Linked DNA regions of Homo sapiens: all the other regions are linked to region 2. Evidence: promoter capture Hi-C in 16 types of primary human blood cells and fetal thymus (Javierre and others, 2016). All regions are on one chromosome and are shown on one strand. Each heading gives the region's core, a stretch centred on a gene start or on the middle of the fragment in contact. The rest is flanking DNA. Distances are from core to core; before and after follow the strand shown.

Region 1 (3,387 bases), core at 282-2,781, 120 kb before region 2:
AAGACCTGGCACGCCCTGGATGACGGGGAACGGCTGAGCCTTGCCCAGAGGGCCATTGACCCAGCACCTCCAGCTCGTGGAGGACGACCAGAGCGACCTGAACCCTGGCAGTCCCATCCTGCCGGCTCAGCTCGGGGCTGCGAGACTCAGGGCCCAAGGCCTGCTGGGCAATATGGCCGCCATCATGACGGCCCTGGGGCTGCCAATCCCCCCAGAAGAGGATACTCTAGGGCTTGCTGCCTTTGGGGCCTCGGCCTTTGAGAGGAAATGTCGAGGCTACGTGGTGACCCGGGAATATGGCCACTGGACAGACCGAGCTGTGAGAGACTTGGCTCTGCTCAAGGCTAAGTACTCAGCATAGAGGGGTAGGACTTCCTGTCAGAGGCTGCAGCACTTCCTCTTTCACAATGGCCTCTTTTCTGCCTTGCTTGTGGGCTAGAAAAGGAGATAAACCTCATCTAGCAGATGGGGCTTGGGTGCCATGTATGGGAATATTTCCTGGGAGCCAGGCCTCAATTTCCTTATTTCAGGGCCTTCCGGCCCAGGTCCTCTGGCCTGCGTTCTAGGTCTGGGTCAACCTCCATGGATGCCATTCCATGGGTTACCCATCCAGTGGTACTGGGTGTCCACTTCCTGGTTGGAAAGATGCACCTCTCCAAAGAGGCTTCACCTGTCACTCTACAGGGAGAGGACAGTTGGTCCCCTTCCTAGGCTCTCCCTGAGACCTTCCCTTTTTTGTAATTTTGGGACGGTTGGGGCTGCCTTCCTGTCTCTGTCTGCCTCATTCGCTGTATGAAGAGCCCGCCTTTCTAAGCGGATAGGCTTCCTTCTTCCTGCTGAAGTTCATTGGCTCCCCTCCTTGGCCTGTCTCTCTGGGGCTACTGTTCCACTTCCTGTCCTCAGGGGCTCCACTTCCTGATCCATGGAAGCCCAATTCTTGAAGAACTAAGGACTGCATCACATCTGTTTCCTGTTAGGACACATCCACTTCCTGTTCTGGGCTGGCAGAGGGCACCACTGGCCAGGGGCTGTCAGCCTCCTATTTATACTGCTGGGCTTCTTGGGCATGTCTGGGGGACTAGGCTGCATCCCAAGGGTCCTTTTCTCCCTAAAGCTGTCTCCCCATTTTCAACAACTATATATACAAGTAACTTTAGTTTCTTTTTTATTTTTAAACATTTTATTTACAAAAAATTAATTTATTTTCAGAAATAAAACTCTTTTAAGGTGTTGCTTGTTTTGTCTCCACAGATCTGCTGGGAGGCAGTGGAGGTGTGCAGGGACAGGGCAGAGGGGCTGAAGGAAAGGAGGACATCAAAGGGACAGGGCTGAGGCCCAAAGGGATGGGGTGTGGCAGACTGGGGATGTAGGTGGAGTGAGCCTGAGGAAGGTGGCTGAGATGCAGAGTAGCCTTCCCCCCATAGGACCAGCAGGCACGCCCCTGGCCAGGGAAGCACAGAGAGACAGCCAGATGGGGACAAGGAGAGAAGGTGTCACCTCCTTGAGATAAGGCTGAGATGTACACATGTGCTCACACAGGGCCACGAGAAGGCAGGAAGTGGGGATGGAAAAAACAGAGACACCCCAAGAGCTGGGTAAAGGGGGAGGCCAAAGGGAACTGAGGCAGGCCCAAGGAAGGAGGGAGAGCAAGAAAATGGTAGACTCAGACGGAGTTACCATGCAGACGAGGAGGGTCCAAGAGTTAAGAGAACGGGGCAGGCAAAGCAAAGAGAGGCTGGGAAAGTGGCTCACGCCTGCAATCCCAGCACTTAGGGAGGCTGAAGCGGGAGGATCGCTTGAGCCCCGGAGTTCAAGACCAGCCTGGGCAACATGGCGAAACCTCGTCTCTACAAAAAATTAAATAAAAAATTAGCCGGCTGTGGTGGCGCGTGCCTGTAGTCCCAGCTGCTGGGGAAGCTGAGGCGGAAGGATGGCTTGAGCCCAGGAGGTTGAGGCTGCAGTGCTGGGATCGCGCCACTGCACCCCAGCCTGGGCGACAGAGACCCTGCCCGTCCCCTCCCCTCTCCCCCACAAAAAGCAAAGAAGGCCGAGGCAATGGAGACAGCTAAGAGCAGACAGACAGACACCGACAGCGGCAGAGAAAGACAAAGAAGCGGAAGGAGAGACGGAACCCAGCGGGAGGAGGCGGGGCGAGCTGCCCCGCGGCGCTCAGGCCGAGCCCCCGGGCAGCAGCTGGCCCAGGTCGCCCTCGGTGCGGCTCAGCCACTCGCGGTAGAGGCCGCAAACGCGGAGCCCCAGCACCTTGGCGGGGAAGACCCCGGTGGCGGAGGCGGCTGAGGCGGTGGCGGCGGGGGGCTCGGCCCGGGGCCCGCGGTTGGCGGCGCCCAGCGCGGCCAGCAAGGCCTCCACGGCGGCGCCCAGGGCCCGGGCCTGGCGCGCCGCGTCCTCCAGGCGGCGCAGCAGGCGCGGCGCGCGCGGGTTCAGCTCGGCCTGGCGGCGACACACTGCGTCCAGCAGCGGGGGCAGCGCGGCCAGCGCCGCCGCGTCCAGCCGCAGCCGCTCGTGCACTGGCAGCCCCGCGTGGCTCGGAGCCGGGGCGCTCAGGCCGGCCACCGGCAGCCGCGGCGGCGAGAAGCTGGGCAGCCCGAAGGGGTCTCCCTGGAGCTGCACCTGCGGAGACACGGCCGGCGGGTCAGCGGGGCCCCGGAGCACGGGCAGGGGGCTGTTAACTGGGCTCTCCAACCCGCTCTCTGGGGGTGTCAGTTTCCTCATCTTGCAGATGATAATCCCTCCTAACAGAGCTGCTCTGTTTAAGGCAAAACAAAGTGGCATGCGCTTGACACCAATGCCTGTTTCTTCCTCCCTAAACTGGACCCAGACTGGGCCAGTTTAGGTCAGCACTTTGGGAGGCCAAGGTGAGATAATCACTTGAGCCCAGGGGTTCGAGACCAGCCTAGGCAACACAGCAAGACCACAGCTCTAAAAAAAAAAAAAAAAAAAAAAATAGCGAGTGTGGTGGCGCATGTCTGTAGTTCCAGCTGTTCCGGAGGCTGAGGCTGAGGTGGGAGGATTGCTTGAGCCCAGGAGGTCAAGGCTTCAATGAGCTATGATGGCACCACTGCCCTCCAGCCTGGGTGAGAGTCAGACCCTGTCTCAATAAATAAATAAATAGGACCTAATAACAGCAGCAACTTCATAAAGCAGTTATGACCATGTCAAGTGTTCAAGACAGGGCCTGGTCCCAGGAAGAGTTCAGTAAAAATGTCAGCTCTTTTATTAAAGTTACCTTACAGACCAGAGTTCAAATCCTATCTTCACCACTTACTAGCTGTGCAGTTTGGGGCAAAACCACTTCCCTTCTCTGAGCCTCAGCCTTCTCATCTGTACAATGAATGGGGAAGCTTCCTGTCCTGTCTTCATGGAAAT
Region 2 (3,286 bases), core at 386-2,885:
CTCCTGACCTCAGGTGATCCACCCACCTTGGCCTCCCAAAGTGCTGGGATTACAGGCATGAGCCACCGCGCCCTGCCCAGCTAATTGTTTTTAAGTTTTTTGTAGAGACAGGGTTTCACTATGTTGCCCAGCCTTCAAACTCCTGGGCTCAAGTTACCCTTCTGCCTCAGCCTCCCAAAGTGCTGGGATTACAGGCATGAGCCACCAGGCCTGGCCTTTAGCAATTTTTTCTCTTTCCTGTTTTCTCTTTTCCTTCCTTCCTTCCTTCCTTTTCTCTCTTTCTCTCCCTCCCTCCCTCCTTCTTTTTTTTTTTTTTTTTGCGACAGGATCTCACTCTGTCGTCCAGGCTGCAGTGCAGTGGCTCAATCTTGGCTTATTGCAACCTCTGCCTCCCGGGCTCAAGCGATCTGCCTGCCTCGGCCTCACAAAGTGCTGGGATTATAGGCATGAGCCACTGCGCCTGGCTAATTTTTGTATTTTTAGTAGAGACATGGTTTCACCATGTTGTCCAGGCTGGTCTCAAACTCCTGACCTCAAGTGATCCGCCTGCCTTGGTCTCCCAAAGGGTTGGGATTACAGGCGTGAGCCACCGCACCCAGCTGCCTTTAGTAATTTCTGACCTTTGGTTTATTCTTCCCCCCAGCCTCTCAGTCTCTGGACAGAGCCCTCTGCACGCTCCCAGGATTCCTCTGTGTTTGTAACACATACACAATACCAAACTTCCCAAGGGTAGAAAGCCCAATTTCCATGCATCTCAGAGGTATGCCCACCCCAGTGTTAACCACAGTGCCCAGGAATAATAATGCAGTGTGTTGAACTGAAAGAATCAGGTGGCCTTAAGTACACCAGTCGCTTCTCACACCTTGGTTTCCTCCCCGGTGAAATGGGGATGATGGGCAACCTTATCCCATGGGACTGTGATAAGGAAGACAAGAAAGAAAGGCTGTAAAAATTGCGAGCATAGATAACTTGGACGTTGAGAGGCCACCAGTGTTCCTGGGTTTTTAAAGGTTTCTTCTGCTGTGAGCCGGGTGCCCTCTGAGCTATGAGAAAAGAGGTTCTCCCTCCTTGGCCAGGGAACCCCCACTGGCTTCTTTCCTGCCACCGTGAGCCTCAGTTTCCTCCTCTGAGGGGAGGTGTTTGGAGAAGAGGGGCTGGAACACAGGCTATTGCAAATCCTTCCCGGCTGTGCTTGTTCCTGCAGTCCCAACTCCTGCAGCCATGACTTCCATCAAGCATTAAGGCCATGTTTAGTGCGTAGGGTGTTCCCTCTCAGGTCTGCTCTGCCAGCCCCTGCTCCCACCCCAGCCCCATCCCAGGGTTAGTCCAAACAAAGACTGGCCTCAGGGGATCAGCAGCCGCCAAATCTGAGATAGGGCTTTCCGGGCGCGGCCGGCGGAGCCCCTGCGAAATGAAGAGCGGCCAGAAGCCCAGGGACCCTCGCGGGCATCGGGGCTCTCCCAGATGCCCACGCTGCCTGCTCCCACTGGAGACGGGGACAGGGGCGTCGTCCCAGCCTCCTCCCTGCTCCCACCGCTGTCCCCTTTTTTCCCCAGGCTGCGGGAGGCAAAGGGTTAAATCCCATAGAGCTGATGCTCTGACTCCAGGCTAGAGGGGCCCGGGAAGCTGGGGTCACTTCCTGCTCCGTCCCAGTCACCCTGAACTGGTCCCCGGGTCCTCAGCCTGGAATCACCCCTTGAGAAGGACCCCAGAGTCCTCGGCGCCCAGTCCGTCCCCCGAGGCAGGGCACTGAAGGGGTTAAGTCCCCTGGGGCTGGATTCCGCCTTCCGGCTTTTCCCAGACCCCAGAGCCGTGAGTTGGGGACGCCTGGGTTCCCGGGGGGTGGCCTGGAGTGCCCGGGACGGCCGCCGGGGAACAATGGGGCCCGGGAGGCGGGGGCCGGGAGCCCGGGCCTGAGCCCCCCACCCGCGCCCGGGGCTGTGGCCGGGGTGGGGGCGGGCGGGGGGCGCGGAGGGCCGAGGATTCTGGGAAGCGCGGGGGTCGGTGGCGGGGGAGGGGAGCCTGGGGATTCTGGGAAGAGGGATCGGCCGGGGCCGGGGACCAGCGCTGCCAGCGCAGCCCTGGAGGAGCCTGGCAGTGCTGGAAGGAGCCGGGACCCCGGGGGCCGGGGCAGGGGCGGATGCCCAGGCTCTGTATCAGCAGCGGGACGGGGGTCGCGGCTCCGGGGGAGCAGAAGTCCGGAGCCAAGCGGTGGGGGGGCCGGGCCGGGCGGCCGCATTCCCGCCGCCTCCATGTCAGGGTCACCCTGGGCCGTTCCCCACATCTCTCGGGAGGCGGCTCCTCATTCCCTCCCTCTGCAGTGGGGCCATCGCGAGGTCTCAGGCTGGCGTGCCTGGCGCCTGGGCTCCCAGCGCCTCGGCCTCCCTCGGTCTTCCCACGTCCATGCTCTGTGTCGGCCCTGTCATTAACCCTTTCCCTCCTACTCTGGACCACTAGGGGAGAATTTTTTGGAGACCATCGAGGTCCACAAACTCTTACCTGTCCCGAGCAAACACAGCAGGGCATCCTTCCCGGACCGGACATCAGGCAGCCCCCAGTGTGGCAGAGGTCTCCGCTTCCACCACCCCAAAGACACTTACAGGCGGGGAGGGGGGATTCTCGGAGCTTAAGTAGCTGCAGAGATGAAGAAATTAATTTACTTCCTAAACGCTAACTTCTGTCTCTCCTACCGCTCTTTGGCAGGGTGCAGCCAGTCTTGCTTCACCTTGGTCACCTCTCAGCGCCTCCTGCCATGTCTCCCTTGCCCCACTGCCCCTGTGCACACAGCGCCCACCTCACACAGCCATCCAAAGTTTCCAGGCCCCACCCAGGGATTCTCTGCAGGGTGTAAATGGTGTGGGACCTCCTTCAAGCGCTTTGTTCCTGTGGCCCCATTCCCTCATCCTGAACTCATCTCACCATTTTTGGAGTGACAGCTGGCTGTTTTTATTTATTTATTTATTTATTTATTTATTTATTTTACCAGGGGGCCACTTGGAACTCCTGCTCCTTTGCTGCCATCCCCTTGCAAACTGATCTTTAAAGGCATTAGACCAAACAGGTGTTCCAGGGGCTAGGGACATCTCACTCATTCATTCATTCAACAAAGTTTCTGGAGCACCTATTCAGTGCCAGGCTAGGCTTGGGAAACAGCCTCAAGAAAGCAGGACAAAAGGAGTAGAAGGAGGGTCCGGGCAGGAGTGGGGATAGGAGGGCTTTGGTGGGGAGTATGGTTCCAGCTCATGGGTGCAGACCAGCAGGCCTAGTCCCTGGGTCCAACTCCTCC
Region 3 (3,075 bases), core at 380-2,879, 99 kb before region 2:
GTCTTTGGAGACAGTTTTGTCTCATGCACCATTGCTCAGATGTGGTCACTGAGGCTCTGAGAGGACCTTCCTGTAGTGACACCACAAGGCAGAGTGGGGTGGGGGCTTGAGCCAGGACCCTGCCTCTCAGTACTTCCCAGGTCTGTCCTATCTCCCGACCTTCACCTCCTCCTCTGGGAGGCCCAGGACCCCTCTTCCTGCTCAGCCCTCGCCTGGGCCTAACAATTATCAAAACTCTGGGTAGCTAGGCCATGATTCTTTTTTTTTTTTTTTTTTTTTTGAGACACAGACTTGTTCTGTTGCCCAGGCAGGAGTGCAGTGGTGCGATCATGGCTCACTGCAGCCTTGACATCCCACCTCAGCCTCCCAAGTAGCCGGGACCACAGGTGTGTGCCACCATACTCAGCTAATTTTATTTATTTATTTATTTATTTATCACTATTTTTTTTTAGAGAGTTTTGCTCTTGTTGCCCAGGCTGGAGTGCAATGGCGCAATCTCGCCTCACTGCAAACTCTGCCTCCTGGGTTCAAGCAAGTCTCCTGCCTCAGCCTCCTGAGTAGCTGGGATTAGAGGTGCCTGCCACCACGCCCGGCTAATTTTTGTATTTTTAGTAGAGACTGGGTTTTGCCATGTTGGCCAGGCTGGTCTCAAACTCCTGACCACAAGTGATTTGCCCGCCTCGGCCTCCCAAAGTGCTGGGATTACAGGCATGAGCCACCATGCCCAGCCTGCTAATTTTATTTTTTGTAGACATGGGGTCTCGCTACATTGCCCAGGCTGGTCTTGAACTCCTGGGCTCAAGTGTTCCTCCTGCCTTGGCCTCCTAAAGTGTTGGGATTACAGGCGTGAGCCACCGCGCCCAGCCTATTCACGTTTCATACATAATAACACAGAGGCCCAGAGGGACTTGGGGGCCTGGGATGACCAACCCATTCCCTGCCCTGAAGAAGCCACTCCTCCACCTGGGATGCCTGGCCACACTTCTGGTTGGGTCTAACTTATCCCCATCTCAATCACCATCTCCTCCGAGAAGCCTTCCCTGACTCCAGGCTCAGTGAGTTTCCCCTTTTTTGAGCTCCAGCAACCCCTTGGGCTTCATTCTCCTTGTTTCATCATTTATCAGGCTGTTCTGGGATCCGTGGTTTGTGTGTCTGTCTTGTCTACGAGGCTGTGGGCTCCTGAGGGGTCTCCACACAACACTGGGAACAGGGCAGTCCCAGCAGCTGCTTCATGAATAAATGAATACATGAATGGGCTGGGGTTTTCCAGGCAGGCTTCTCTGAGGAGGTGGCATGTGAGCTGGGCTCTGAGACATGAACCTCTGTGCTAGAACTCAAGTCAGAAGCCCTGGTTCAAGTCCTGGCTCTGTTACTCCCTGAGTGGCTCTAGGCAGGCTGTTTCTACTCTCAGCCTTAGTTTGTTCATCTGAGCAATGGGAACAATAACTAGGCCTCATCTGCCCCAGGGGTTTGTGGGAAGCTTCGAGTAATATAAGGCCCTCTCACTCTGTGCCTATAGGGTCATGTATATTGGCCCTATTTTTATTTTTAATAAAGAAAGATACTGAGGTTCAGAGAGGACCAAATTGGAACTTTAAAGAAGCATTAAAAACTGTAGGCTAGGTGTGGTGGCTCACACCTGTAATCCCAGGCCTTTGAGAGGCACAGGTGGGAGGACTGCTTGAGGCCAGGAGTTTGAGACCAGCTTGAGCAACAAAGCAAGACAAAAATGAAAAAATTAGCCAGGCATACTGGTGCGCGCCTGTAGTCCAAGCTTCTTGGGAGGCTGAGGTGGGAAGATTGCTTGAGCCCGGGAAGTTGAGGCTGCAGTGAGTGATGATTGCACCACTGTGCTCAAATCTGGGCAACAAAGCAAGACCCTGTGTCTAAACAAACAAAGGAAATGTAAGGATGCTTCCGACAGCAGCTGCAGTGGTGTTGGTGGAGCCAGTGCTGTCCAGGGAAGCCAGGCTTGCTGCAATGTAGTGTAACTGTTTCTTATCACTGCTGTAACAAATTGCCACACATATAGGGGCTCAAAGCCACAGACATTAGCCAGGCACAGTGGCTCATGCCTATAATCCCAGCACCTTGGGAGGCCGAGGTGGGTGGATCACCTGAGGTCAGGAGTGTGAGACCAGCCTGACCAACAAGGTGAAACTCCGTCTCTACTAAAAATACAAAAGTTGGCTGGGCATAGTGGCGGGCGCCTGTAATCCCTGCTACTCGGGAAGCTGAGACAGGAGAACTGCTTGAATCCGGGAGGTTGCAGTAAGCCGAGATCGCACCACTATACTCCAGCCTGGGTGATGGAGCAAGACTCCATCTCAAAAAAAAAAAAAAGAAAAAGCCACAGACATTGATTCTCTTACAGTTCTGGAGAAGTCCAAAGTTAGTCTCACTGGGTTAAAGTCAAGGTCTCAGCAGTAGTTCCCTCCAGAGGAGGATCTCTTTCTTTGCCTTTTCCGGCTTCTAGAGGCTACCTGCAGTGTAGCATCTTCCAATCTCTCTCCATCGTCACATCTTCTCTAACTCTCCTGCCTCCTTCCTCCAAGGACCCTGTGATGACACTGGGCCCATTTGAATAATCTAGGACACTCTTCCTATCTCACAATCCTTAGTTTCATCACACCTGCAAAAGCCCATGTGCCATATAAAGCAACACATGCACAGATTCTGGGGATTCAGATGTGGACTTCTTTGGAGGGCCATCTTCATGGTAATGTCGGCTGTTTGCTGGGTGTGTGGCCACCTCATGACTCCCCTCAACCACTCCCGAGGGAGGAGAGTGTTCTGTAAATGGGAAAGTCCCTTGTGTGGGTTAGTGGTGCAGTGTTGAAGCTCAGAATTCAGGTTCCGGGTTTGAATCTCAGCATCTGCATTCATTTGTTGTATCACCTTGAGCAAGTGACTGAACCTTTCTGTGCATCTGTTTTCTCATCTATAAAATGGAGATAATAGGCCAGGCATGGTGGCTCACACCTGTAATCCCAGCACTTTGGGAGGCTGAGGTGGTTGGATTACTGAGGTCAGGAGTTCAAAACTGGCCTAACCAACATGGTGAAACCCTGTCTC

Evidence for each region. The method cuts DNA at HindIII sites, captures the fragments that hold promoters and counts their contacts. A CHiCAGO score of 5 or more calls a contact.
Region 1: a contact is called between a fragment that was not itself captured here and the fragment with the promoter of ZNF629 in region 2, in 4 of 17 cell types (M1 macrophages, M2 macrophages, megakaryocytes and 1 more). The highest score is 6.3, in M1 macrophages.
Region 3: a contact is called between a fragment that was not itself captured here and the fragment with the promoter of ZNF629 in region 2, in 2 of 17 cell types (erythroblasts and M1 macrophages). The highest score is 5.7, in erythroblasts.

Annotation. Positions count from the first base shown.
Region 1 is chr16:30,901,322-30,904,708 of GRCh38, reverse strand. It overlaps CTF1 (cardiotrophin 1), which reads right to left. Exons shown (of 3, transcript NM_001330.5): 3 at 1,162-2,631. The coding sequence ends at 2,170. It also overlaps the pseudogene CTF2P. Among named protein-coding and RNA genes, the nearest start is that of CTF1, 6.4 kb to the right of the region's middle. RefSeq lists enhancers at 1-121, 122-622 and a silencer at 2,184-2,683. The HindIII fragment of the contact is 3,666 bases long and covers 1-3,364 here.
Region 2 is chr16:30,785,554-30,788,839 of GRCh38, reverse strand. It overlaps ZNF629 (zinc finger protein 629), which reads left to right and starts at 1,635. Exons shown (of 3, transcript NM_001080417.3): 1 at 1,635-1,812. RefSeq lists an enhancer at 1,566-1,685. The HindIII fragment of the contact is 10,939 bases long and covers 1-3,286 here.
Region 3 is chr16:30,884,682-30,887,756 of GRCh38, reverse strand. All of the region lies in intron 2 of MIR762HG (MIR762 host gene), which reads right to left. It also overlaps a transcript of BCL7C not described here. Among named protein-coding and RNA genes, the nearest start is that of MIR762, 7.7 kb to the left of the region's middle. RefSeq lists an enhancer at 1-301 and a silencer at 2,733-2,812. The HindIII fragment of the contact is 294 bases long and covers 1,483-1,776 here.